Regions from separate parts of the Homo sapiens genome. Here region 1 is linked to region 2. The links are contacts of gene promoters, found by promoter capture Hi-C in blood cells and fetal thymus (Javierre and others, 2016). All regions are on one chromosome and are shown on one strand. The core of a region is centred on a gene start or on the middle of the fragment in contact, and the rest is flanking DNA. Distances in the headings are between cores, read along the strand shown.

Region 1 (6,796 bases), core at 3,319-5,818, about 15 Mb before region 2:
TCTTATGTAACTTGGGAAAAATTAGGGCACTTTGAAAGTAAACTTCAGAAATATCATATGCTAAGAATTCAGCCCTTATCACTTCAACTATCTAGAAATAGCTGAGAAGCAGGAAGGAAAAGAGGTCTCTGAACAATCAAATAATAACAGCTAACATTTATAGAGTGTTTGCTGCCTGCCAAGCACTGTTCTATCTGGATTACAAACATTACCTCACAAGAAACAAATGAGGGTGAGGATGTGGAGAAATTGGAACCTTTGTACACTGTTGATGAGAATGTAAAACAGTGTAACTGCTATGGAAGAGTATGGTGGCTCCTCAAAAAATTAAAAATAGAATTATCCTATGATTCAACAATCCCACTTCTGCATCTATATGCCAAAAGATGAAAACAAGATCTCAATAAGATATTTACACTCTCATGTTTATTCCAGCATTATTCATAATAACCAAAATGTGGAAGTAACCCAAATGCCCATTGATGGATGAATAGAAAATGTGATATATACAGGCAATGGAATATTATTCAGCCTTAAAACCTTGAGGACTTCATACTAAGTGAAATAAGTCAGTCACAAAAAGACAAAGTGTGTGAAGCTACTTCTATGAGGTATTTAATGTAGTCAAACTCAGAAACAGGATGTAAAACTGTGGTTTCCAGAGCTAGGGTAGGAGAAAATGGAGAGCTCTTGTTCAATGGACATAGAGTATCAGTCTCGCAATGAAAAAGTTCTAGAGATCTGCTGAACAACGTGAATATGGTTGATACTACTGAACTGTACACTTAAAAATGGGCTCAAAAATTTTTTTAGCTCCCACATATGAGTGAAAACATACAGTGTTTATCTTTCTGTGCCTGAGTTATTTCACTTAACATAATGTCCTCCAGGTTCATCCATATTGCCTCCAATGACAGGATTTCATCCTTTTGTATACATATTTTGTGTATATGTTCCACATTTTCTTTATTCATTCATCTGTTAATGGTAGGGTGAATACAGTTAATGATAGTTTATTGTATATTTTCAAGAAGCTAAAAGAGAGGATTTTGAATGTTTGCAACACAAAGATGATAAATGTTTGCGGTGAATGGATATGCTAATTAGCCTGCTTTGATCATTATAGATTGTATACATGTATTGAAATATCACTCTGTATCCCATGAATATGTACAATTATTATGCATTAACTAAAAACTAAAAATGAATGGAAATACATAACTAAAATGGTAAATTTTATGTTATGTGTTTTTAATCACAATGAAAAATAAACAACAAATAAATAACATAAAGAATGAATTGATAAACAAAATGTGAAATATATATGCAGTGGAACATTATTCAGATTTAAAAAGGAATTAAATTCTAAATACATGCTACAACATGGATGAACCCTGAAGATATTATGCTAAGTGAAAAAATTCAGACATAAAATGACAAATATTGTTATGATTCCACTTATATGAGTACCTAGAGTGGTCAAAATCATAGAGTCAAAAAGTAGAATGGTGGCTGCCAGGGACTGGGGGAAGGAGAGCATAGGGAATTGTTGTTTAAAGAGTTTCAGTTTGGGAAGATAGAAAAGTTATGATGATTGGCGGCGGTGGTGTTTGCACAATAATGTGAATGTGCATAATTCCACTGAACTGTATACTTAAAGAGGTTAAAATGACAAATATATATATTTTGCCACAATTTTTCTTAAAAAATAATGTATGACATTATTCATGCACAAATGCAAGACTGGGCTGGAGGGACTACAAGCCTTACTTTTTGATGCTTGTGCTAATATTCATACATCCAAAAATCTAAAAATTAAAAACAATGAGGTAGTGTGGTAAATTACAGATGGCCACAAAGTCTTTGCTACATCTTCAATTAAGAGGTGGACTCTTATTCTTCTCTTGAATCTGGGCTGGCTTAGTGGCTTTTTTGACCTAACACGACGTGATGGAAGTCACTCCTGGGACTGCAGAGGCTACATTATATGAAGTTTTGTAGCTTCCTCCTGTTTTGCTTGGAACAGCTCCCTTTTTTCCCATTCTACCTCCAAGTGCTCCCTGTCAAAACCCAAACACCACGGTATAAGAAACCCAAATCAGAGGGAAAGCCCAAGTGTAGGCACTCTGATAAATAGCTCCAACTGAGCATCTAGAGATCAGCCAGCCTCAACTGCCATCAATATAACATCTATTAGAGGCTGACATTAACTACAGCCCCAGTTTGATATCTGACTGTAAATGCCAGAGACTGCAAGCTAGGACTGCCCAGCCTAACCCAGTTACCCTACAGAATCAGGGCAGATAAAATTTTTAGCCACTAAATTCTGGAGTGACTTGTTACGTAGGTACCATAATGTCTATTTTAAAGAAACCTGAACCTTAGAGCTGAAGTGATTGCCCATTGTCTCTCTGCCAGTAAGCAGAGGAACTCACAGTTAACCAAGTCTTTCTGGTTCTAAAGCCTGCATTGCTGACTACTAAATACACAACTTCTCAGTCAAAACAGCTACAATAGTTTTTTTTTTTCCTTTTTACCTTCAAAAAAAATCCTGTATTTGAATTCATAGTGGAGTTCTGCCATATACGCCAAGTCTAAGGGTAGTTAAGAATAGCCTTGATATGCATAGCACCTTCTGCAGTTGTGCACTGAACAGGCTCCATAGCCATATGAACCTGTCCTGAGCAAACTCCAACCACTATCCCTGACCAAAACTTCTCTTGAGTATTAGTCATCATTTTAACAAAGGGATTATCTGTTGTTTAGGTACCTAAGGAATTTCAAGGAAGAACACGGGCTGATACTAGAACTCATGGAAGAATGAAAAGAGATACTTTAGAATTTAATTAAAAAGTGGGGATTGAAAATTAAAACAACACAGCGGTTTAAGGTCATTTACTGTAGGGCAAACTTTCCTGCAGCGCTCAGGGACCCCATGATGGTGCCACTGTACAGGAGAAATACTAACTCAGGACCTTTTTAATGAAAACCTGTAACATCAAGGTACAAATAAATCCTAGAGATGAAGGGATACATATAACATGCTCTACCTGAAAATGTTAAAACTAGTTTTGATATCTTATTATATATAACACTCATAGCAGTGAGAAAATATCTTTAACATTTATTACAATGATTTGTGGTAGGAAATTTTCTAAACTTGAGGTAGGAAACCTTTCTTACTCATGAGTATTCATTTCAGGTCCCACTACAGTGCTTTTTACAAAAGGAGGAATGCTAATAAAATGAAAATCATATTCCATTGAATTAAAAATTCAGGCCAATTGTGCTGAAATAAATCTTACTGAATGCCTTCTAAATATGCCATGCCCTGCACTAGAAACTTTCGTAATTCCTATTTATTCTTCAGAATAACCTGGGAAACAGAAAAAGCTAAAGTCTGTTTCCTTTATTAAAGTTTGAATATGAAGAAACCGACAGAAGCAAATAGCATAAAAATTCATTTTTGTCTTCAATTACAGGAAGAATGTAACATGAAAGCTGAGATTACAATGAATAGTACATGAATATGATGAGGTTTTGTTTTGTTTGTCCTACCAGAGCTCCAAATAAAAACACAGATATATGGTTTGACATACGGAATGGGATAGCTAAAACTGTGACTGCCTAAGACAAGCTGAAACCTAAGGTGCCGAACCATATTGGGGAAAGAGGGGAAAAACCAGTAGGTCTGCTATCAATCAAGAAAAGAATAAGAAGAAATGGGATTCCCAAGCCTTCTTCAGCTTTTTCTTCTCCAGCAGAATAGCCTAGTCAATGCTACGTCTTGTCAAATTGTGTCTCACATGGCTTTAATGCACACTAACTTTCCTAAGAAGTATTTGTATCTATTTAAATCTAGGGATTTTAGCCCATATTAATTACATGTATATTAGGGCAAGAACACAGGATGTAAAAGGTAAAAATCTGAATTTCAGTCCATCTGCGAGACATTGTGAAAATCAATTACACTCTCTGAAGACAATTCCTTATCCATTAAACAACAGAAAAGGTGATTAAGTTGATCCTTGCCTACATGTCAGAGTCGTGTAGAGTTTTTAATGACACTCATGTGAAATTCCTTTGGACTGTAAAATACTATTACTTACGTGCAAAGATAATGTCCCGAAATCACAGAAGGGATGACTTAACATTAACATCTTTAACTGCGCCCCCGTCCTTCCTCTCAAAAAAAAAAAGTTCTCTATTTTTAGTTGAATGATTCTGGGAAAATCTCTATTGGAACCTATCGACTTCGCAAATGACAAAGGCGAGGTCCAGAGACTTATCCAAGACCCCAGAGTACCAGTGGAAATCAAGACCAAACCACACGGTGGAGACTGGTTCCGACGTATCAGACTCAGTGCTTCCGGCATGGCGCTTTAGTGTCAGGTGAAAGAACAGCAACCCGCCCCGCTTCTCCACCCCTGACAAGCCTTCCGAAATGCCACGCTGAACATGGCTGCCGCGCTTCGATGCTTCTTCACACACACAATATGGACACGGGTTTGAGGCTCCAGCCCCGGATGACAACACTCCGGAAATATGCGAGCGGCGGCGGAAGCGGAAGTGCCTCAGCGGTAGGGGCCGGGGAAGTGTCTGTAGCGTCCCTCCCTCTCAACCACAATAACAGGCGGAGGGTCGGCGTAGGTGAGGCGGCGGCTGAGTGGGCCTGGGGACCGGGAGCGGGGTGGCAAAGCCCGGAGTGCGTGCGGCAGGGCTGAGGTAGCTGGGTGGGGATTCTGGAACTTCCGACCGCTTAAGCTCGGCCTCTGGCCCCCTTGGGGCCTAGAGCTCCTTGAGAGATCAGGGGTTGAATTTGTAGTTCCTGGCCTTCTAGGCCGTGCTTGCGGGGGTTGCCTGCTTGTCTGAACCTGGCCCCAAAATCCAGCATAAAGAACTCTCTCTGGGCCCCAGTTTCCTCAATGAAATGGGTGAGGGTGTTGGACTGGACAGCTTCTGTGACTGTCTCCCACCCCGGGCGTCACGAATTTCATGATTTTAATGTTAAGTCGGTGTTTCGGCCAGTAAAGTGAAGGAGGTCTGTGTTCAGCGTAGTGAGGAGATGTCCCTGAGCAGGAAGCAGTGAACACATCTTTGGCTGCCACGCCTGAGTATCAGGAGCCCTGAATTCTAGTTTCACCCCTTCCACCTACACACCGTGTGACCTTGTCTAGGTCCATTAGCTTTTCTGTGCTGCAGTTTGCTTATCTGTGTTGGATGCCTTTGATGTCCGTGCCCTAGCTGTGGAAATCAGATTCTTAACTCCCTTTTCATGGAGTCTTTACAGACCTGAAAAGCATATTCTCCCTGCACTCTGCACACCCAGAATTTGACTAAGAGATGTCTACCGTGTTTCTTTGCAGACACCAAGCTGGCCAAGGGCAACTGGTCACTTAGGAAGGTTCCTGTGCAATGAGAAGCTCTGTCCAGAAAACTTTGTTTTATACACCTAAACCAGCAGTGTAAATCACTACAAAGTGAAAAACAGGAGACCTTGATTTTTGTTCCAAAGTTGCTATTAACTTGATGGTTTACTTTGGCCAAATCCCTTCCTCTCTCTGAACTTGAGATTTTTTTATCTGCTAAAGGAAGACGTTGGATTAGGTCACTGGTTTTTAATCCCCTTTCCCATTCCCCCAGCACAAGTGAAGGATAAAATAATAGTTCTATAAAGCCATGATTTTCCCAGGGAAGGAGGAGGTCCAGTCTGGAGGGTATGTATTACATAGGCATAGACTGAAAAAAATCCGCTTGTAATTTTTAACTTTCATTTTGAGAATTAACATTTTAGATTATCTGTAAGCCTTCTTTCCCCTCTTTAAAATATGTGATGCTGTAATTCTGATGTCCTCCTTGGGTAAAGAATGTAGAGTTTTGTGTGCCTCTTTGTTTAAATGGCTGTGTGCCCAGAGGTACACACTTTATATTTAGTCAAACAGATACTAATGCATAGCAGAGGAGAAAAAGGGACAACTAGATTCCAGTAAGATAGGGTGATATAGTGAAGTAAAATTGGTGGTATACTAAAATGAAATAAGGTGGTATAGTGAAATAAAATTAAAAAGGAGTTGAAGACCTGTATCCCTGCTTCACACTGGTACATCCTGCCTCTGTGACTTTGGACAAGCCATCTAACATCTCTAGGCCTCACTTTCCTTATCTGTAAAACGAAGGGTTGAGCTGGATGATTCCTAGGCCTTTTTCAGCACCATCATCCTGTTGGGGGGTTTTTGTTTTGTTTTGTTTGTGTGTGGTTTTTATCTGAGCAGTTTGGTTTATGTGGTGTGGTATTTCTTTAGACAAGAGAGGCTGTCCTGGTCAGTAGATACACAAGATAGTCTATGATGTCAATTAAGGTCTGTGAGGTCAAATTAAGTGATATGCAAGATTACTTTGATATGAGCAAGCTGAAACCAATAGAAACTAAAGAAAGGCATGAGAAACTTGAAGGGCAGGGAAGCCCTTGACCAGATAGGATCATTGAGAATATAGGGAAGTTTCAAGTGAGAGGGGGTATTTTTCACGAGGGTAAAGAAAAGTAATTTGAGTTTGGGATGGGAAGGAGATTTGAATTGACGAGATAGGAGAACACTTTTTGGAAACAACTCTGGTTTAAGAATGTGCTTGCAACACCAAGACAAAAGTAATGCTTCCTGTGGCTAAGGTCAGCTAAGCAGGCAGCCACAGAGTGACTGTAATATACCAAAGGTGGCCATAGACCACTGCATGGGAGCCTAAATTAAATGGACCATAAATCCTAATTGGTGAAGGTAGGGTGTGGTCAGATGCAGTT
Region 2 (6,855 bases), core at 2,093-4,592:
CAACGTGGGTGACAGAGGGAGACCCTGTCTTGAAATAATAAAAATAAATAAATTATGCCCAGTTAGCCACTTGGGATCCATCTTGAAGGACTGGCTTTTTCAGGTTCACATTTGTTCACAAATGCAAACACACACACAACAATTCCTCATAATTTATATTAATAGATTTCTCTGAATGCCTCTTAGAGTTTACCATGCGCTGTGTGCTCTAAATGAATGTAACATTAAAAGTCAGATGATTTTTTTAGTTCAATTTGAATGGCAATTTTTGATGTTCTTAAATTGGTACAGAGCCATAATTCAGAATAGCGGTGCAAAGCTCACTGAGCACGTTCATGACCCTTGAAAGTCTTCGAAAACAGATTACTGGGCTTCGCTCCCAGAGAATGATTTCGTTTCTTAGGTTCTGTGGTGCAGGCAGGTTTGGAAATCACTTATCTAGAAGTCCTTAATGCTTTGTGAAACTTAAGGCCGCTCACTCCATCTACCATTTTCTCAGAGGGCAGCATAGTATTAATGGAAATGACCCGTTGCATTTTACTTCTTGCGTGCTGTTACCACCACTGCCTTTTACTCTCCTTTGAAATAATTAAAAGCACTGGGAAGGGAAAGCACTGGAGAATTTTACTAAACATAATCTGTTGCAATAAGGTGTAACTAAATAAAATGATAGAAAACTGTGCCTTTTAGAACAGGAATCAACTGCATGATCTGTGTGCTTTCCAAAAGTGTGGCTCACTCTTCTTTTGCAAAAGAAAACTACAAGGAATCTTGACAGGAAGTTGTTGGGTTTTTGTTTTTGTTTTTGTTAAGTAGTTAGTTCTACCAAATAGTTTTGCAAATAGACCCAGGCTTGACTGGCAATTAAACATGAAACTTCTCATTGGGTATTTTCGAGACTACTACGGGGAATCAGCTACCAGCTTACTGCCATGTGGAGAACTGCACGAGATTCCGGGATTGGAATCAAAATGCTAATTTAAAAGGTCAAGTGAAGCTGCTCCTCACGTTTTGGCGTGCCTGCGCTCTCTGCAGGCAGAAGCGAACAAAGACCCAGCAAGAGAAGGCAGAGGCTAAGACCCATCCCGTATCTGCTCTCCTGAAATAATTCTGGAGTCATGCCTGAAATGCCAGAGGACATGGAGCAGGTAAGAACTAGCAATTCAAGAAATGAAGCATTCTAGAGTAAGAGATGCTTTAAAAGCATTCCAGTGAACGCCTGCTAAAACCAGAATTGTTGTGTAAAGAAAATAGAAACGGGTGTCATTCATTTCCTTAAAACATAACCTCGGGACATGGAAGAATAAGCCAACTTTAGTTACTGACCCGGAGAACCAGGTTATGAAGGGCTCAGCTAAGTCTCACTAGCTGACAATACAGAATTGCACTTTCATTTACCATTTTAAATGCAATTATGTATATAAAGTTTCTACATAAATAAGGATTTTATCTGTAGTGTGTTCCTTTCCAGATGTTCTTTGTCTTTGTATGAATTGAATCTGCTAACATAACTTTTAGTTTCAGGCTGCTCTCTTTAAATGTATAGACTTAGCCACCACACGAAGTTGTATATTGTCTATGTTAAGAATGGCGTTTGATTCGCATAGACCCTACCATCATTAAAGAAAATGATTAAAAACCATATCCAAACATATGCCCCTAGAACTGTACCCAACTTTTACGGGGAAAGTATCAAGTCAGATTTTCAAAAGCAGCCAAGTTAAATTCTTTCTGTTCCTCAAGACTAGGCTGCTCTGAGAATCAGAATGCTAATTGCATATGCTTGCCCTTAAACCTGCTTCACGTTGAAGAATGAAGAATTAATTTTCTTTTCTCCCATAGAAAGGTAAGATTACATCACGTGTTGCGACTAGAAACTTTAAACCGAATTCCCAGTTAAGAGAAAAAGTAGTAAGATGATCTTGGCTGCTCCCCCGGCCCTCTTCCCGCCCTCTTCTTTGTTGTCCCCTGATTATGCTTGTTTAGCGCTGGGGCAGTCCTCAAGGATTCCCTAAATAAAGCCAAACTAATGAACAGTAATAGCCTGTGTTTAAAAAAAAAAAAAATCGGAACATAAGAAACCTCAGGCTGTCTTCGATTACTGTTCTAGAGAAACTTTATGTTTACACGAATAAGGAAATGAGTTTTTGTTGGGGGTTGAGGAGGAAGGAAAGTCATGGTGTTCTGACGTGGAAAACTTCTTTAAAAGGCTGCTTAGTCTTTAGTTTGAAAATAAACCAAAAAGGTTTAGGAGTCGGGGAAAGGCCCTAGGAAAATCCAGACAGTGGTCACGTTTGTGGACGACGTTTAGAGCTTGCTATCCTGGGCACACAAGAACCCTTGGACTGTTCGGTGCAAAGTTGGCAAATCCTACACGGCCTGTGCCAGGGTTTACTTTCTGCATCAATTTCACAGGCGTCCAGCCTGGCTGAGGATTTTTTGCGGTTTTTAACTGGAAGGGAAATAAGTCGGCATCAGCACTTAGGGCTGCTTAACTTTTAAAAGGTGGTAGAACGCCCAGCCTTACACGCTGCTGCTTAAATTCTCGGTGCTCACCAAGGCTGGGCTCGTGTGGCCCAATCCTGCAATCCCCGAGGCGGTGTTTCTTAAAGAGTGGGCTTGATTCTGGTTAAACCCATTAAGAAGTCGGACCCCGGGCTCGTTTCTTGTTCTGTAATTATGGGTAAAGTCCAAGGATCTGCGTTTTGAAGAGGTACCTAAGTAGTTCATCTTCCTTCCCCCTACAACTTTTTATTTTTAATTAGTTAAAAATAGTTTTACATTTTTGATATCTCACACACAGGTTTTTTCTTTTTTTAAGCATCCCAGGAAGACAAATGGCTCAGACGCCAACCCTTTTATTTTTATTCCTTGTCTTTTTCTAAATCTTTCAAAACCCCCACCTAGAGCTCTAGAGATGTGTCCATTATGCTCTACCCACCTCCGCCCCCGCCCCCATGACTTTAAAATGCTTTTTATTCCACTTTTTATATTGCTCAGTCGATCCTCATGCACTGCGCAGTCTGCAAACTTGAAACTCAAGGCGATCCACTTCAATCTTTTCCCGAGTCAAGAAAAAAAGGAAAAAAAGTAGAATAAAAAGCACTCAAATAAAATCTCCGAAACAAAACCTGAATTCACTGCCTAAGGTCAGGGCCTTTCTTTTGTGTGTCGCTTTAAGCATCGGCGCGTGGGCTGGGGGCAGACCGCGCGTACCCGCCCTCTTTCTGGGGCGTCGGCGGAGCGTGGCCAATCAACGGGCGCGGCTATGGCAGCGGAAGCCGGAAGCGGCGAGCGGGGTCGTTCTGGGCCTAGGGGAGGCGGGCCGAGGGCGTCTGAGCTGAGGCCCGCGTCGATCCTGGGTTGGAGGAGGTGGCGGCCGCTGAGGCTGCGGCGTGAAGACGGCGGGCATGGTGGGGCGGGAGAAAGAGCTCTCTATACACTTTGTTCCCGGGAGCTGTCGGCTGGTGGAGGTGAGGGAGTCGGCCTGGGCGTCTCCGGTGGGAGCGGGGGCGCCGAGGGGGACGAGCCACCGGGGCTCGGGCGGCTTTGCAGGCGTATTCCGCCCGGGTCAGAGCCTCCGGCCGGGAGTGGTCTCACCGCCACCCTCCCAGCCCCGGATCCGAGGGGGGCGCCACCGAGTTTGTTTATCTCAGCGCACACGGGTCAGTGTTTTTTTCTTCCAGCCACTGCGGCAGGAAGCAAGTAGGTGGAGGTTTTACTTTCGAGTTCTGTCTCTGCTCCTGAGGACGAAGAGGTTTTTCAGAATTGTTTGTTTTGATTTTGGTTTTCCCCGTTTATTCATCTTTGGTTCGTATTTCTCGATCTTACAAGTTCGTAGGTTTGAGAAAGAACAGGAAAAGGTGACTTCTCACAAATAACAGTGCTGGAGATGACAACTTATTGAACTCTTAAGTTCTCAGCACTATGTTATGCACTTGACGGGCATTACTTTAATCCTCCACTGTGAGATACTTGTTATTGCCTCATTTTGTAGACGAGAAAACGGGCATAGAGGGTGAGACATTGGCCCAGGTTCATTCCGTAAGGTTGGAGCCTGGAATTCAGATACAGGTTTGTGTGACTGTCTTGGGCTTTGAACCACTACGGAGTTTCCCTGAAGGAAGATTATGGTGATGATTGGAAGATCCATCTCTGGTGCCCCCCTCGCCCCCGTCCCATCCTGCTCCATTCCACTTAAGGGCCTCCAGCATTAATCTGTCCACAGAACATATCCAACCCTGGGGATAAGAACACTACTAATGCCCAGACCATGTCTTTTGGAGAGAGTAGAGAATATAGGAGATGGCTGTTTCTGTTATTGCAAAGTTTTCATGCTTCCAAATTTACTTAGGGTTTTCAAATCACTTTGGTTCTTTGAGGGTAAAGTTAGGATAAATGGTCTATTAAACCTCTATGTTCCTAGGTCCTCCAGACCGTGCTGAGTGCATGTTACATACGTTTACATTTATATGTATGCATTTGTATGTGTACGTGTGCATATAAAGCTTAATCTACTTTCACAAAAAGAAGTTCAGTATAAAAATGAAAATAGCTTTTCGTGTTTTCCTTCATTAAAAATGAAACAACGAAGAGCTTGGCACAGACTTACTGCTCTCAAAACCTGTAGAATTAAAGCTTACTGACTCATGAGAACGAGAACTGTCTCATAGTTAACGTTAGAGAAGCATCCTGGAGTGGTTGTTGTTAGTAATACTGTCTGTGGAGCACAGTAGCGTCGCAGTAGAAGTTAGACCAATCCCACCTAAGTAGTCAGAGAATCTTAAAAAGTAAAGCCCAGTAATGTTTACCTTAAGGGTCTGTTTCTGGGGAATTAAAAAATTAAACATGGAACTGTGCCAAGTTTTAAAGTTTCCAAAAACGACAAGGTATTTACCACTGAAATTTGGGAAAACCACATACTAATAGTATTCCATTCTTTACTTTTCTAGAACATTTTTAGTAGACATTAATGCAGGTGTGCTAAAGTAGAAATCACTGTCCCAGAGTACTGTGTTGGACCATTTGGAAGGAGCCATGTATCTCCCATTACCTATACAATTTGGTATCATTCGATTAGATACGATAATAAGAATATTTATTTATATGTACTTAATTTTTCAAGAAATGTTTTTTTGGTGTCCATAAATCTGGTCCCTTGGAGTGATTGAATTCCGTACTTCAGAGTTTAGACAATAAGAGGCAGATACGTTTAGAGTAACTTAAACTGATATTAGATCTACTTTCCCCCATATAATAAAAATTGAGAAAAAGTAGACTTCAGGCAAAGTATTATCAACTCTTTATTGTGCCTTGAGTGAACTAGATAGCATTTTATTCTTTCATTCTGACTTTCTTAAAGTGTTTAGACATTTCTTCCTTGTGCACAACTAAAATAATTTATGGAGTGCAGGTCCAAAGTAGTTTTTAGAGGGATATTTCTTTTTCTAAAGAACGAACCAAAAAGCCTCAACAAAACAGTGTAAAAGGCAGAGTATTGCTTATATAGAAGCTCAAAAACAGAGATATTTGTTTGGCATATTTTAAATTTCGGAGTAATGCATATTCAGAGGAAAAGTTACCTTATTTAAGTAAACGAAACTATTCGGACTCCTCGTGGTAGGGATAATATGGAAAATGTTAGAAATATAGAACTTTAAAGCTGAAAGAGCCTTAGTCATTTTGTCTAAATGCCTTCCCCATTTACCAATGAGGAATTAGATCAATAGAGATAGAATAACTTCTAAACACCAATTTGTGGCAGAACAGATAAAACTTTAATCATTCATGAAACCAAATATTAGTTCACAGGATTGAGACAAAATGCAGTGTATTTGACTTGACCAGAGAAGCAAGACTCAGGTTCTGGTTCCAGCTTTTTCTCTTTTACTATAGACAAAACATTTAACACTGGACTTCTTGTTACTCTCTTTGGAAATAATATCTCTTCTAACAAGCTGCTGGGTTTTTTTGTTTTCTTTTTTTTCCTCTTGCTCTTTCACCCCGTCTGAAGTGCAGTGGCTCAATCTCTGCTCACTGCAACCTCTGCCTCCAGGGTTCAAGCGATTCTCCTGCCTCAGCCTCCCAAGTAGCTGAGATTATAGGCGCCCACCACCATGCCCGACTAGTTTTTCTATTTTTGGTAGAGACAGCGTTTCACCATGTTGGCCAGGCTGGTTTTGAACCCCTGACCTCAAGTGGTTGGTCCACCTTGGCCTCCCAAAGTGCTGGGATTACAGGCGTGAGCCCTGGCACCCGGCCTCAAACTGCTATTAAAAAAACAAAAACAGCTATGATTGTATACTTATATAACACGTTAGTTTTCTTTTTTTTGGTTTTTTTGTTTGTTTGTTTTTTTGAGATGAAGTCTAGCTCGTGTCCCCCAGGCTGGAGTGCAGTTGTGCGATCTCGGCTCACTACGACCTCCGCCTCCTGGGTTCGAGCGATTCTCCTGCCTCAGCCTCCCGAGTAGCTTAGATTACCTAAAATTACCTAGAAAAAAATATGAAACAGTGTACAGTACCCAGCAGTCAGGTGTCAGTGCTCAAGATTTTTATTAAGAGTGACGATCTGAAGTGCAAGCATTTACTGAAATGGAAATGATACTGCACAACATTTTATTTGAAAATTAACATGTTATAGGCCGGGCGTACTGGAGGCCTTACATAGTAACCCAGGGGTATAAGGATATAAAGTTGCATTTTCTCATACAACTCCACTTCCTTTTTTACGTTAAGGTATTATATTCCCTAAAGAGCCTTGTTCTTCTCTATACTTAATACTGCATCAACTCCAAGAAGCTCTTAATTAAAAGAAGATCATCTGGGCTCTTAAGTTGCATTAAGTTAGCAAAAA

The links. The method cuts DNA at HindIII sites, captures the fragments that hold promoters and counts their contacts. A CHiCAGO score of 5 or more calls a contact.
Region 1: the fragment with the promoter of FBXO38 here is called in contact with the fragment with the promoter of MAT2B in region 2 in 1 of 17 cell types (total CD4 T cells); the score reaches 9.1 in total CD4 T cells.

What each region holds. Positions count from the first base shown.
Region 1 is chr5:148,379,390-148,386,185 of GRCh38, forward strand. It overlaps FBXO38 (F-box protein 38), which reads left to right and starts at 4,569. Exons shown (of 22, transcript NM_205836.3): 1 at 4,569-4,650. It overlaps FBXO38-DT (FBXO38 divergent transcript), which reads right to left and starts at 4,461. Exons shown (of 5, transcript NR_105057.1): 1 at 4,110-4,461. RefSeq lists an enhancer at 4,346-4,545. The HindIII fragment of the contact is 17,680 bases long and covers 1-6,796 here.
Region 2 is chr5:163,502,277-163,509,131 of GRCh38, forward strand. MAT2B (methionine adenosyltransferase 2 non-catalytic beta subunit) reads left to right here and starts at 3,343. Exons shown (of 7, transcript NM_013283.5): 1 at 3,343-3,473. The coding sequence starts at 3,411. RefSeq lists enhancers at 652-1,460, 796-845, 3,076-3,882, 3,100-3,189, 3,230-3,349 and a silencer at 3,520-3,659. The HindIII fragment of the contact is 7,455 bases long and covers 1-4,506 here.